Linked DNA regions of Homo sapiens: all the other regions are linked to region 1. The links are contacts of gene promoters, found by promoter capture Hi-C in blood cells and fetal thymus (Javierre and others, 2016). All regions are on one chromosome and are shown on one strand. The core of a region is centred on a gene start or on the middle of the fragment in contact, and the rest is flanking DNA. Distances in the headings are between cores, read along the strand shown. Region 1 holds the start of CAPRIN2 (caprin family member 2). Region 2 overlaps RAB3IP (RAB3A interacting protein). Region 3 holds the start of CEP290 (centrosomal protein 290).

The links. Contacts are between HindIII fragments. The CHiCAGO score rates a contact against its expected background, and 5 or more counts as called.
Region 2: a fragment that was not itself captured here is called in contact with the fragment with the promoter of CAPRIN2 in region 1 in 1 of 17 cell types (non-activated CD4 T cells); the score reaches 6.7 in non-activated CD4 T cells.
Region 3: a contact is called between the fragment with the promoter of CEP290 here and the fragment with the promoter of CAPRIN2 in region 1, in 1 of 17 cell types (non-activated CD4 T cells). The highest score is 7.0, in non-activated CD4 T cells.

The regions. Positions count from the first base shown.
Region 1 is chr12:30,752,704-30,756,533 of GRCh38, reverse strand. CAPRIN2 (caprin family member 2) reads left to right here and starts at 1,583. Exons shown (of 19, transcript NM_001385503.1): 1 at 1,583-1,783; 2 at 2,975-3,190. The coding sequence starts at 3,014. LOC645485 (a long non-coding RNA gene) reads right to left here and starts at 1,460. Exons shown (of 2, transcript NR_135046.1): 1 at 1,263-1,460. RefSeq lists silencers at 55-258, 1,350-2,029 and enhancers at 1,957-2,126, 2,130-2,209. The HindIII fragment of the contact is 2,894 bases long and covers 1-2,566 here.
Region 2 is chr12:69,741,079-69,745,082 of GRCh38, reverse strand. All of the region lies in intron 1 of RAB3IP (RAB3A interacting protein), which reads right to left. Among named protein-coding and RNA genes, the nearest start is that of RAB3IP, 4.2 kb to the right of the region's middle. The HindIII fragment of the contact is 1,122 bases long and covers 1,135-2,256 here.
Region 3 is chr12:88,140,838-88,144,672 of GRCh38, reverse strand. It overlaps CEP290 (centrosomal protein 290), which reads left to right and starts at 2,585. Exons shown (of 54, transcript NM_025114.4): 1 at 2,585-2,773; 2 at 3,339-3,467; 3 at 3,640-3,717. The coding sequence starts at 3,366. TMTC3 (transmembrane O-mannosyltransferase targeting cadherins 3) reads right to left here and starts at 2,366. Exons shown (of 14, transcript NM_181783.4): 1 at 2,186-2,366. RefSeq lists enhancers at 1,996-2,499, 2,306-2,745. The HindIII fragment of the contact is 8,380 bases long and covers 2,123-3,835 here.

The sequences.
Region 1 (3,830 bases), core at 334-2,833:
GGCTGGAGTGCAGCGGCACAATCTCGGCTCACTGCAGCGTCCGTCTCCGGGTTTCAAGCGATTCTCCTGCCTTAGCCTCTGAGTAGCCATGATTACAGGCACATGCCGCCATGCTCGGCTAATTTTTGTATTTTTAGTAGAGATGGATATTCACCACGCTGGCCAGCCTGGCCTCGAACTCCCGACCTCAGGTGATCCACCCCGCCTCGGCCTCCCAAAGTGCTGGGATCACAGGCTTGAGCCACTGCGCCGGCAGGGGGCAAACATTTCATGATTAATCTGACTGAAATACCATTTTTAGGTTCATCATTAGCTCGGACTACAACTCAGGCTGTGCTGTAACTTTGTGTCAACTCATTGATCCAACAGTGTGTCCTTCACATTTTTTCTTATGGCCACTGTTTTTTGTGTTACCAAAGGTGAAGGCATAGCCTTCCTCTCCTCATGTTCAGCATCTTCTGCGTTTCTCTGTTTATAAACAATGAGAAAAAGGGAAAATCTAGTATTTCTCTGACCCTGAAGAACACATATGGGATTCAGAGATTCAAAGTTAAAATGCAACATTAGGGTACATTATGTCACCAGGGACCGAAAAGAACACGGATAATAGATGCCAAAAAAATGTATTAAGTAATGTTAAAATTAATTTGTGTGAAGTTGACCAAGGCTTTTAAAACTAGACCTTTGTTTCCTTGATTCTTCTTCTGAATTTTCTGTTCTTTTGCTAGTCTCAATATTTTTTATCAGAGCGTCAGGGACAATCAGGACCTAAAAAACTCCACTTGGTGTAATAAGTAAACACATGTTGGGGCAAAGTATTGCTGAGTGTGTGTGTGTGTTTCTTATTTGGTATCAGAAACACCTTCCTTTCCTCAATAAACTTTTACATATTTCCAGACTTTTCTCTTAATTTTATGTAACCTTACAAAGATTTTTTACAGCTTTCTCTGCGTGCCAGTCAATTAATGTGTGTCACATGAACAAATAATACGGCTTGAATAAACTCAATCCTATTATTGCAGGTTGCGAAGTCACCTACTCCGTTTTTATGGCGATGCTGATTTGGGGCATTCTGCTCTTACAGGCTGATTCCCCGGTAAGGAAACGGTGTTTTTTCCCCATCCTACTATGAAAGATGCTATCTGAGGGGCAAAGGCGCATCTGCATTTCACGACTACCCACTAGGCTACGACAGCCTCAAGCATGGCTTATCTGGTAGTTCCGCGAAGGGCTCGCTGCCCTCCTGGAGCTATTGGAGTCACCTGTTCAAGGTCGCGAAACCACCGGTGCCGCCGGCAATCAGCGAGGTCCAGCGGGGCTGCGCGGTTTCCGGCCTGCCGGCGTTCGGCGTCGCCTCGGCCCCACCTGGTGCCCCGCAATCTGCGCAAAGGCTGGGAGACCGCGCCCTCTCCCGACCTACCACCAGCCCAAGCTGGGCCCGGAACTAACACCCGACAAGCGCTGGCGGCCAGCTGCAGCCGGGAAGGAGCACCGGAAGGAGGCGGTGGCGGGGCGGCCGAGGGCGGAGCGGGCCGGGGCGGGGCGCGGCCTACAAAAGCCACGCGCGGCGCGGTGGGCGGGCCTGGGCGCGAGCGGCTGAGTCGGCTGGGTCTCTGGCGCCGCAGAGGCCGCGGGCGAGGACCGGGAGGGGAGAGGGAGGAGACAGGAGGAGGAGACGCGAGTGCGGGGTGGCGCCGGTCCACCTCCGCAGCGCTCCTGCCTCCCCCAGGCTTTGGAAGGCGGGCCCGGGCTGCGGCAGCGGCGGCCTCGGCTGCCTGGGGAGGTGAAGTCGGGCTGCGGCGGCCTCGGTCGGCGCGGCGGAGGGAGGCGGCTGACCCGGCGAGGGTGGGCAGGTCTGGGCGGCCGGCGCCGCTGCGAGGTGGAGGGGCGGCTTGGCATCCCCGGGGCGGGGCGGGGCTCCCGAGGGCCGCGGTCGGTGCGTTTTCCGCAGGTCAGCCTCCCCCGGGGCCTTGCAGAAGCGGCTTCTGCGTACCCGGGGCGGCTGTGGGAAGGGTGGGGGTCGGTGCCTGCAGGGCTCTCCGTGGCCGCTCGGGAGAGGTGCTCTTCGCTCAGGCTCCCCCGGAGACTTGAGGGGGTGCGCGCTGGCGTGCATGGGGCCTGTTCTGTCCTTGGTTTGGGGATGCTCCTAAGGGGGGAGAAAGGGATACCTCGGGTGCTTGGAGGTCGAGAGACGGATACGTAAGTGCGCAAGGGCCACTGATTAGGGCACGGGAAGGGCTCGCTAGAATGAGCTCTTAAACTGGTTGGGTGTAAGCGGTTTTGGGCTAGTCTAAACCAAACAACTGAGAATAAACGCGGGGTTCCTGCAGGTTGAGAGAGTACCTGTCTGCAAATGTCCAGTAGTGATGGATTGCCTTGTAGGCCCCAGAGCAATCGGGGAAGTTAGCATTCTTGTTCAAGAAGCTGCTGGTTCACTTAGAGCTATAAAAGAATGTTGTGAGTTTGGATTTTCTTCCAAACGTTCAGGATTGAGGTTAGGGCTGGTGGTGAGGGATCATGTAAAGAGGTTTGAGTGGCTCAGCCTTAGGTCCCGGTGTGGAAAGCTTATTCTTTTGGTGTCATCACGTGGCCATGGGAATTATTTAGAATGTGATCTGCCCTCATGAGAAGAAAGGAGCTCTGAAGCCGTTGCAGTTCTTCCTCCCTATGTGGAAAATCGAATTTCTGGAAACATCCTCCGTATTGGGAGATTTTGCCTATGTAAAGGCTATCCTTATTGGCTAGCGGCACTAATTACTTTAAAAGTAGGATGGAAGTACAAGTATCTCAAGCATCATTGGGTTTCGAGCTCACTTCTGTGGAAAAGAGTTTAAGGGAGTGGTCTAGACTTTCCAGGGAAGTTATTGCCTGGCTGTGTCCCTCTAGTCCTAATTTTATACTTAACTTTCCCCCACCTCCTTCAGCCTCATCTGTTTCAATGGTGCAACTCTTTTCATCCCCTTTTGGTTACCAGTCACCTTCAGGCCATTCAGAGGAGGAAAGAGAGGGGAATATGAAGTCAGCCAAGCCCCAAGTGAACCACAGTCAGCATGGGGAAAGCCAGCGGGCCTTGAGCCCCCTGCAGTCTACTCTGAGTTCTGCTGCATCTCCTTCCCAAGCGTATGAGACCTATATTGAAAATGGACTCATATGCCTTAAACACAAAATTAGAAACATCGAGAAAAAGAAGGTAACTTTTTTTCTTCCAGTCCTGTAGATGCATGATCTTAAAGATTAAGGAGCTGACATTTTTCTTTCAGAGCTCATAGGTGTTCTCTACTAAAAATTTAACTAACCTTAGGTTTAGCTGCTTTAAACAAGCAGGTTACGTGTTGGAAATATTAAACATTTTCTGTTTCATTTGTCAAAACAACGGAATAAAAATATTCTTCATAGTTACATTATGCATGCTGCTGTTGAAATACTTTAAGAGCTAGCTATTTTAGGTGAGATTAATTCCTTATGTAGTATTAATGTTTCTTTTCATAGATGTGTTAATAGCTGATTTTTTAGCTTGTTTTCCTTGTGACTTTCTGCAGCAGTTGATATTGCAGTATAACTGCTGCAGTCGTTGGAAGGTTTAACCGTAGTAGAACTAGAAAATGTTTTACCACTTACTTTTGTGGTGTTAGGTGAAGATTTAAGATTGCTAGGTGAAAGCGTGGTAGTCAGCCTTGTAAAGAGACCCAGGAGTTAAGCCTAGCTACAGAAAATGCTGTTGTAAAGATCTAAATCCTTCTTCATTTCCTGAGTCATGTAGCCTGTGAAACAGACTGCACGTTGCTTTGCTGTATTACGTTTCTCTTCTGCTTTTGGACAGGTGAGGTTGA
Region 2 (4,004 bases), core at 446-2,945, about 39 Mb before region 1:
AGGTTCATTATACTATTGTGTCTACTTACCTTATTTGAAACTCTCCATAATTTATAGTGCTCTCAAAATAAAAAGGAAAGTTCAAAATTTATTCAAATACTGTATAATAAAGGAGGAAAAAACAAAACAAGTATATATATAAAATCATTTTTTCATTAGCTTTCATAATAATTTTAAAGTTGGCTTCCCAAACTAGCATTTTAGTTATGACAAAAAAAATCACATTTATCTTTTAAGAAGCATTCTATGTTTATAAATGCAAATGTAATTAATAGCCCAAGGGCAAAATTACTCAAATGGTCAATCAGGCTACACAATTTTCCCATTTTTATTATAATAGATCACAAATGAATTCCCACTAATTCCACAATACTTTTTTTTTTTTTTTTTTGAGATGCAGTCTCGCTCTGTCGCCCAGGCTGGAGTGCAGTGGCACAATCTCGGCTCACTGCAACATCTGTCTCCTGAATAGCTGGGATTACAGGCGCCTGCCACCACACCCAGCTAATTTTTTGTATTTTTAGTAGAGATGGGGTTTTGCCATGTTGACCAGGCTTGTCTCGAACTCCTGACCTCAAGTAACTGTCTGCCTCAACCTCCCAAGTGCTGGGACTACAGGTGTGAGCCACCATGCCCGGCCTAATTCCACAACACTTCAATGTACAACCTGACATGTGTAGAGATGTTAGTTATTGCAGTGTGTTATGTTGACAGTTTTCAGAAAATGTTCTGAACTTATGAGCTAATATTATATTTAATTACAAATAATTATTTGTAATAATACAATGAGCTAATATTTAATTACAAATATTTATTTGTAATTAAATATTTATTTAAATTAACAGAACACCGCATGTTCTCACTCATAAGTGGGAGATGAACAATGAGAACACACGGACACAGGGAGGGGAATATCACACACCAGGGCCTGTGGGGGAGTGGCGGGCTAGGGGAGGGATAGCATTAGGAGAAATACCTAAGGTAGATGATGGGTTGACCGGTGCAGCAAACCACCATGGCACGTGTATACCTATGTAACAAACCTGCACATTCTGCACATGTATCCCAGAACTTAAAAGTATAATTTTTTAAAAAAATCATTTTCCAAATTTCTTTTTCTCAATAATGGAAGCTTCATTTTACATATTCTCTTAAGAATATATGCCAACTAAACATTCAACAGGTGCTGAAATACGCACTGACTAAATAAATAAACAAGAGTCTTTAGAGAAGGAATGAATAGCAAAGCGGTAAAGAGTGGAGACAGTTATTCAGGCTACATTTTTGCTGAAAAAGATAGAAATGAAACAGTAAATACTTTGCGAGAGTATCAAAACTGGAGAAATTGAAGTTTGAGAAAACCTGAGCATTTTAACAGACTAACTTCAGAAAACCTTCCTTCTAGTTCAGATTCTGTCACTGACAAGCTGTGTGAACTGACGCAAGTCATTTAATCTCTCTAAGGTTCAGTTTTGACATCTATAATGGTAGTGATATTATCTCCCCTGCCTACATTTGAGAAAATCAAATGGCATATCAATGTAAAAATGTATACATTGTAAAGCACAACATAAATGTATGATTTTATAAAGATCTAAGAAAGAAAAAAATGTAATGGGGGAAATAGCAAAAGCATACTGAGGGGTTTGTCTTACAAATCAGAAGGTATCTTTATTTATCTTAGGTAAAAGGAAAGAAAGGGAAAACTAGTCTTTATGAGGCATGTAGTTCAAATATGATTCTTTTCCCCACAGGGAATTGATACAAATTTGCTTATTGTTTTTTCAAACTTATTTTGGTTTTTCTTTTATACTTTATCCTTATCTGACAACCAGATGCTCCCAAACAAATATTCAATACTATTACTTTTATCTGGGCATATCAAATTACAATTCACTTATTTAAGTGGTTCTAAGCTATCATCTATATGCTCCTTTATGCTCATAGGGCATTCTCACATTCTTGAATAGTTTCTTCATACTAAGCTGTCAATTCATATACTTATTTGTGTATGTATCCATACCCCTCAGAGGAATTTCATCAACTGCCATTATGATTATATTTACAATCCTACTGTTAACGACAAGCATCAAATCTTTCATGAACTTGAACTATTTGAATAATTTTCATTCTTTTTCCTCTAAGTAATATCAGTTTACGGCTATAGTTATCTAATTTCGTGTTGCCCTATATTCTAAGATAAATCAGATTACTTTTTCCACTTTTCTCTAACCATGACTATGTACGATGTAAGCTTATAAAACTACCTCATTTAGTGGTAAGTTGAAAAGGAAAGCAGAAGGGAAAATAGAGATAGCAAGTTAATGCTCCCAGTTGTATAAATATCTTCCTCTTCCTTCCTTTGTCCCTTCATTTCTCAATGTTCATTTCAATTTCTACTGCTAGAGCAGCTTCAAAACATCCTAACATTCTTCAACTGATCATCCATCACCAAACACAGCACAGTACTTACCTGGCCCGATGTTAAAGCTATAAAATGAGGTAAGCCCTACTCTCGAAGCACTTGTAGACTAGAGGAAGAGACCACCTTGCCAATAAACATGTTTCTAGGGCCCTAGAAACAATTACAAATACAACACAAATATCAAAGTTCATAAATACCAAAAAAGAGGTACTCAGTATTATAAAAGCATAAAATTTTTAAAAAGAGTACCATCTGGTACAACTAAGGATAGTAGCATAAAAAAGGAGAAACAAGCTAGAAAGCAGTTTACAAAAGCTCAGATATTTTGTTTTTAGGATATCAAATGCGTAGTAACCAATTTACTATCCTTTGATGAACTGCATCTTAATCAGAATTATATCGGAAAAAAGTTTAGTGTGAAAAAGCGTACTCCCTTGGAATATCTTCAAAGCTTTCCCTCATTACCTCAATGCACAAATATCTCTACCCACTATCCATCTGTCCTTCCTCTCCACTACTCAACTATCCTAGCACTTTGTCTTAGTTGACATTCATTAAAATATGTAAAGTGCGTTCTACATTTTGAAGAACTTATAAAAGATATGGGAATGATTATAAGGCCCTACCTTCCATATTCCTTAAGAACAGTTTCCTTTAACCCCTACTGTGACTTGCAGAGTAGATGCTCAATGAGTATTTGATTTAAAAAAATCTCTGGTGACACAATGAGAATTACATATTACATTAACATTACGTATCTCATAAAAGCTAAATTACAAAGTTCTTCAGCATTATAAGCTACACATAAAGAAGTGATAATGTAGTGATTATGAGCAAACAATTCTTTAGCATTACCACTTATACATGAAGAAATGACAGAGTGTAGTGGTTAAGAGCACAGACATGGAAGACAAACTGTCTGACATCTAATCTAGACCTGTCACTTAATTAACTATGTGACGTTGAGCAAACTACATAAGGTCTCAGGGTCTCAATTTTCTCAACTACAAAATAGGGATAAAGTATTATCTCCTCGCTCACTCTGAGAGTAAATGAGTATAAAGCTTACACCAGGACTTCGCTTGATAAGCACTAGACTTAAAAGTAACTGTAGTAGCAATGCTGGTATCACCGTCTTCAGAAAACTTGGATATTTTTAAACCAGAAATACAAATGGTAACACTTGTCATCTGTGTGCCTCCTTATAGTTACAAAGCTCTTTAATAGAAGGTGCAGACCAGGAATGTAAGAAACAAAAGCACTACGTTCCATTTTGGGCAGTCGGATACAGTTTTTAATACCGGCTCTGTCACTGGCCAGCTGTACGACCACCTACAACTAAGTAACCATAGACAAATTATCGCAACTTTCTAAGCCTCCATTTCCTGACTTGTAAAATTTGATAAACCACCTATATCCCGGGAATGTCCAGAGGACTGAGGAGTCAAGGTATCGAAAACAAGCACACACAGTGCCTTGCACACAATCAAGCTCACACTGGTTCCTTCTCCCCTTCCCCACATCTCTAATGGAGTATGTTATTAAATCCTCATCTTACCATTATGAAGTTCATATTAGG
Region 3 (3,835 bases), core at 1,336-3,835, about 57 Mb before region 1:
AAATTTAGGTAAGATTTTGCTTTTAGTTACAATTGTCACTGAGATCTAGGTTACAATCTTAGCTTCATCAATTATTACTTAACTTCTATGAACTTGTTCTCACTTCTGAAAAATTAGAATAAAATTTACCATTAGAGACCAGGCACCTTGAGTTTATGAATGTGAGCAAGAGGGTGGTGGCAGAAGGGTAGAAAAGAGTAATACAGACAAACGAAACTTGTAAGTGAATACATAAAAATAAGTTATAACGAATGAAAAAAAAAACAGAAGAAAAGGTGTTAGAGAAAACAGACTTCTATTATGAAAACAAACACGCAGTAGTCAGCATAGTGTATGACATAACATGTGCTCAGTAACTATTAAATTTCATTCCTACCATTGTCAGAGGTATTTGAATCACAACAACTCCATCTTGAATAGGGGCTGGGTAAAATAAGGGTGAGACCTACTGGGCTGCATTCTCAGGATGTCTGTCAGTCATTCTAAGTCACAGGATGAGATAGGAGGTGGGCACAAGATACTGATCATAAAGACTTTGCTGATAAAACAGCATGCAGTAAAGAAGCCAGCCAAATCCCACCAAATCCAAGATGGCGAGAAAGGTGGGACGTCTGCTCGTTCTCACTGCTCATTATACACTAATTATAATGCATTAGCATCCTAAAAGACACTCCCACCAGTGCTATGACAGTTTACAGATGCCATGGCAATGTGAAGAAGTTACTCTATATAGTCTAAAAAGGGGAGGAACACTCAGATCTAGGAATGGCCTACCCTCTTCCCAGAAAACTCATGAATAACCCACCCCTTGTTTAGCATATAATCAAGAAATAACTATAACAATCCTTAGTCTACCACCTCCAATGGGGGTGTATGCACCTCCAATTCTTTCTTGGCGAGATCCAGGAGCCCTCTCCTGGGGTCCAGATCAGAACACCTTTCCAGAAACACCATCCCATGTTAAATTATGAATTAAGAACACTGAACATGAAGAATGTTTAATTCAAATTATTGAGTAAACACTTACAAAATTAAAATATAACATTTAATAAAAATAGCAAGATTGAGGAACAAGCACTTCACAAATATTGGTTTCCCAGAATGTCTGAGGAGGTGTATAGAAGTTAAGAATATGTCCTCCAGCCAGAGAGATCTGTGTTCAATCACACTATTTAAGTTACTTAGCTTCTCCAAGCCTCAGTTTCTTAACTCAGATGGAAAATGAGGACAATGTAAGCACCTATTTCACTGGATTGTAAGGAAGAATAAACAAGATAATGAATAGTATTTGGCATATAATCTTTCAGAAAAGTAGTAAAATTGTCATTCCTATAAATCTAACTAATGTCTTTAAAATTCATCTCACAAAATCAGTATCTTTTTATTTTGTACTGAGCTACTTATTTTACCCAAATTGGGGGTTTAAAAAGAAACTCATTACTTATTTTCGAAAGGAAAATTTACTGTCAAGTACAGTAATTTTTTTTTTAAAGCAGCGTTTAAAAAAAAAAAAAGACAAAGCACTGGTCCAGATAGTTGGAAATGTCATTTAGATTTAAGTCTACAGCTTCTTAGGAAAGTTAGGTAGAGATGTATCATACTCCAGCATGATTGTGAGCAGACGAGCAGGATGAGCAAAACTTGCACGAGTAAGAGTGGTAAACACCAGAGAAGGCGCTTTCATGGAAGGGCACCCTAGGTAACCAAGCAAGTGGCAACAATAGTACAGGTGAGTCCTTGGATCCCTTCTCTCTCCACCCCCGGCAGTGGTCCGGACAAGTACTAACCTCTCCTCTCTAGAGCCTTGACTTTATACTAGCTCCACAACCATCAAGCCCCACGATCCGCGAAAGGAATGGTGCTACAGGTAAGGCGGGCGGGGTCGGGATGCCGAGACCTCTTGTCAATTCTTCGCTCGCCCCCAAACGAGGATCACGGCTGCGCGGCTCTCACTCTAACTATCAAGACAGATTCTGATACTAAACAAGGCTAAAACTTTTTGTTTTTTCCTTCTTACAGAAGGCACTACCCTGGACGCCGCTTGCAAACGCCTGAAGAGAAGGCAGGGTGTTCCCACTTTTTCAGAATGGGACCAGGCCCTACGGCCCCAATAGCAGAAGCTTCTCTAACCCAGGACTGCTCCCCTCAATTCCTCCCAATATGCTGACCGACAGCTCGACCTCACCTGGGGGCGGTTCCGCCAGGGGATGGCTTAGGAAAACCTCAGGAAGAGCAGCCCAGCGAGTGACGCCACTGAAACCACAGTCATGGTCTACCTCGTTCAGGCCACCAGTTTGCAGGCGCCTGAGCCGCTGCTCCTCCCGCCTCTCGGTCCTTCCCCGCCGCCCCGGTACCGTCGCAGTCTTACGCGTTGCATGCCGGGAGCGCCTTACCTCCTCTTCTCAGGGACTTCAGTTCCCAGCATGCAGAAGCCTCAGGCAGAACTGCACTCTGGGATTTGAAGTCCTCGTTCCACGCCTTCTCATCATCCTGAACACCGAGCTCTGGGACTCCGGCGGAGAATCTAAACGTAAAGCATCACCCACGGTCGTGAACTGTAGGCTCTCCTGGCATCCGGGATCTTATTCTGGCCTTGGCGGAGTTGGGGATGGTGTCGCCTAGCAGCCGCTGCCGCTTTGGCTTGCTCGGGACCATTTGGCTGGACCCAGAGTCCGCGTGGAACCGCGATAGGGATCTGTCAGGGCCCGCGGCCGGGTCCAGCTTGGTGGTTGCGGTAGTGAGAGGCCTCCGCTGGTTGCCAGGCTTGGTCTAGGTGGGTGGATCCTTGTAAGCAGGATTAGCGAGTCACTCCACGCTCAGGTTCTTTAGCCTGAGGGCCCGTGTGCCACAGCATAGCTACCCCGCCCTTCCAGCCTCGGGTCCCTAATACTGCCTTGCTTCGGTTCCAGTTTCCGCCGCACAACTTCACTCATTCCAAATGTTAATTTCTGCGTTTTTTTTCAGCCCCAATTCTGTTTCTCCAAATCAGGGATGATTGTCGGCCTTCCACAGACCCTCGCGCTTGCCAGGATTAGGGTGTTCGCGCGCATTGTGGGTAGGGGTGTGGAGGAAGGGATCCAGAAATCTTAAGTATTAACTTAGATTAGTGTTAGCAAGGAAGCCGTCACATTTTATTTAGCCGGGACACTCTGACAGTTTGTGCCGACTGCTATTTTTGATCAAGGCTATTTTGCCCACTTGTCTATTTTGTGGCCCAATTGTCTGTTTTGCTAACATCAGAAAGTTATAATGAAATAATCTGCAAAAAATGTAAGGTGCTAGAAAACCAATAATACTGTGTACCTTGAAAATGCTAATATACACCTGTTTTGTTACAGAGGTGGAGCACAGTGAAAGAATTCAAGATGCCACCTAATATAAACTGGAAAGAAATAATGAAAGTTGACCCAGATGACCTGCCCCGTCAAGAAGAACTGGCAGATAATTTATTGATTTCCTTATCCAAGGTGCTTAATTGGTCAATAATAATAGATATATACATTAACTTATGATTAATTTATTAATAAAATATGAATTTATTTTTTTCAGGGACAACTATAATTGTCACAATCTGGAAGTGTTCTTATATTTTGCTTGAAGGTTATAAAATATAAAACAGTTGCTTTTCTGTTTACTTAGGTGGAAGTAAATGAGCTAAAAAGTGAAAAGCAAGAAAATGTGATACACCTTTTCAGAATTACTCAGTCACTAATGAAGGTTTGTATGTAGTAGGTTTTAACTATAGGTTTGGCTATTAGTGGAACTATAAAAATCTGTTCTTATATAAGGTAATCTTTGTGAAAATACCTGGTAATATCTACATCACCACTAAAAA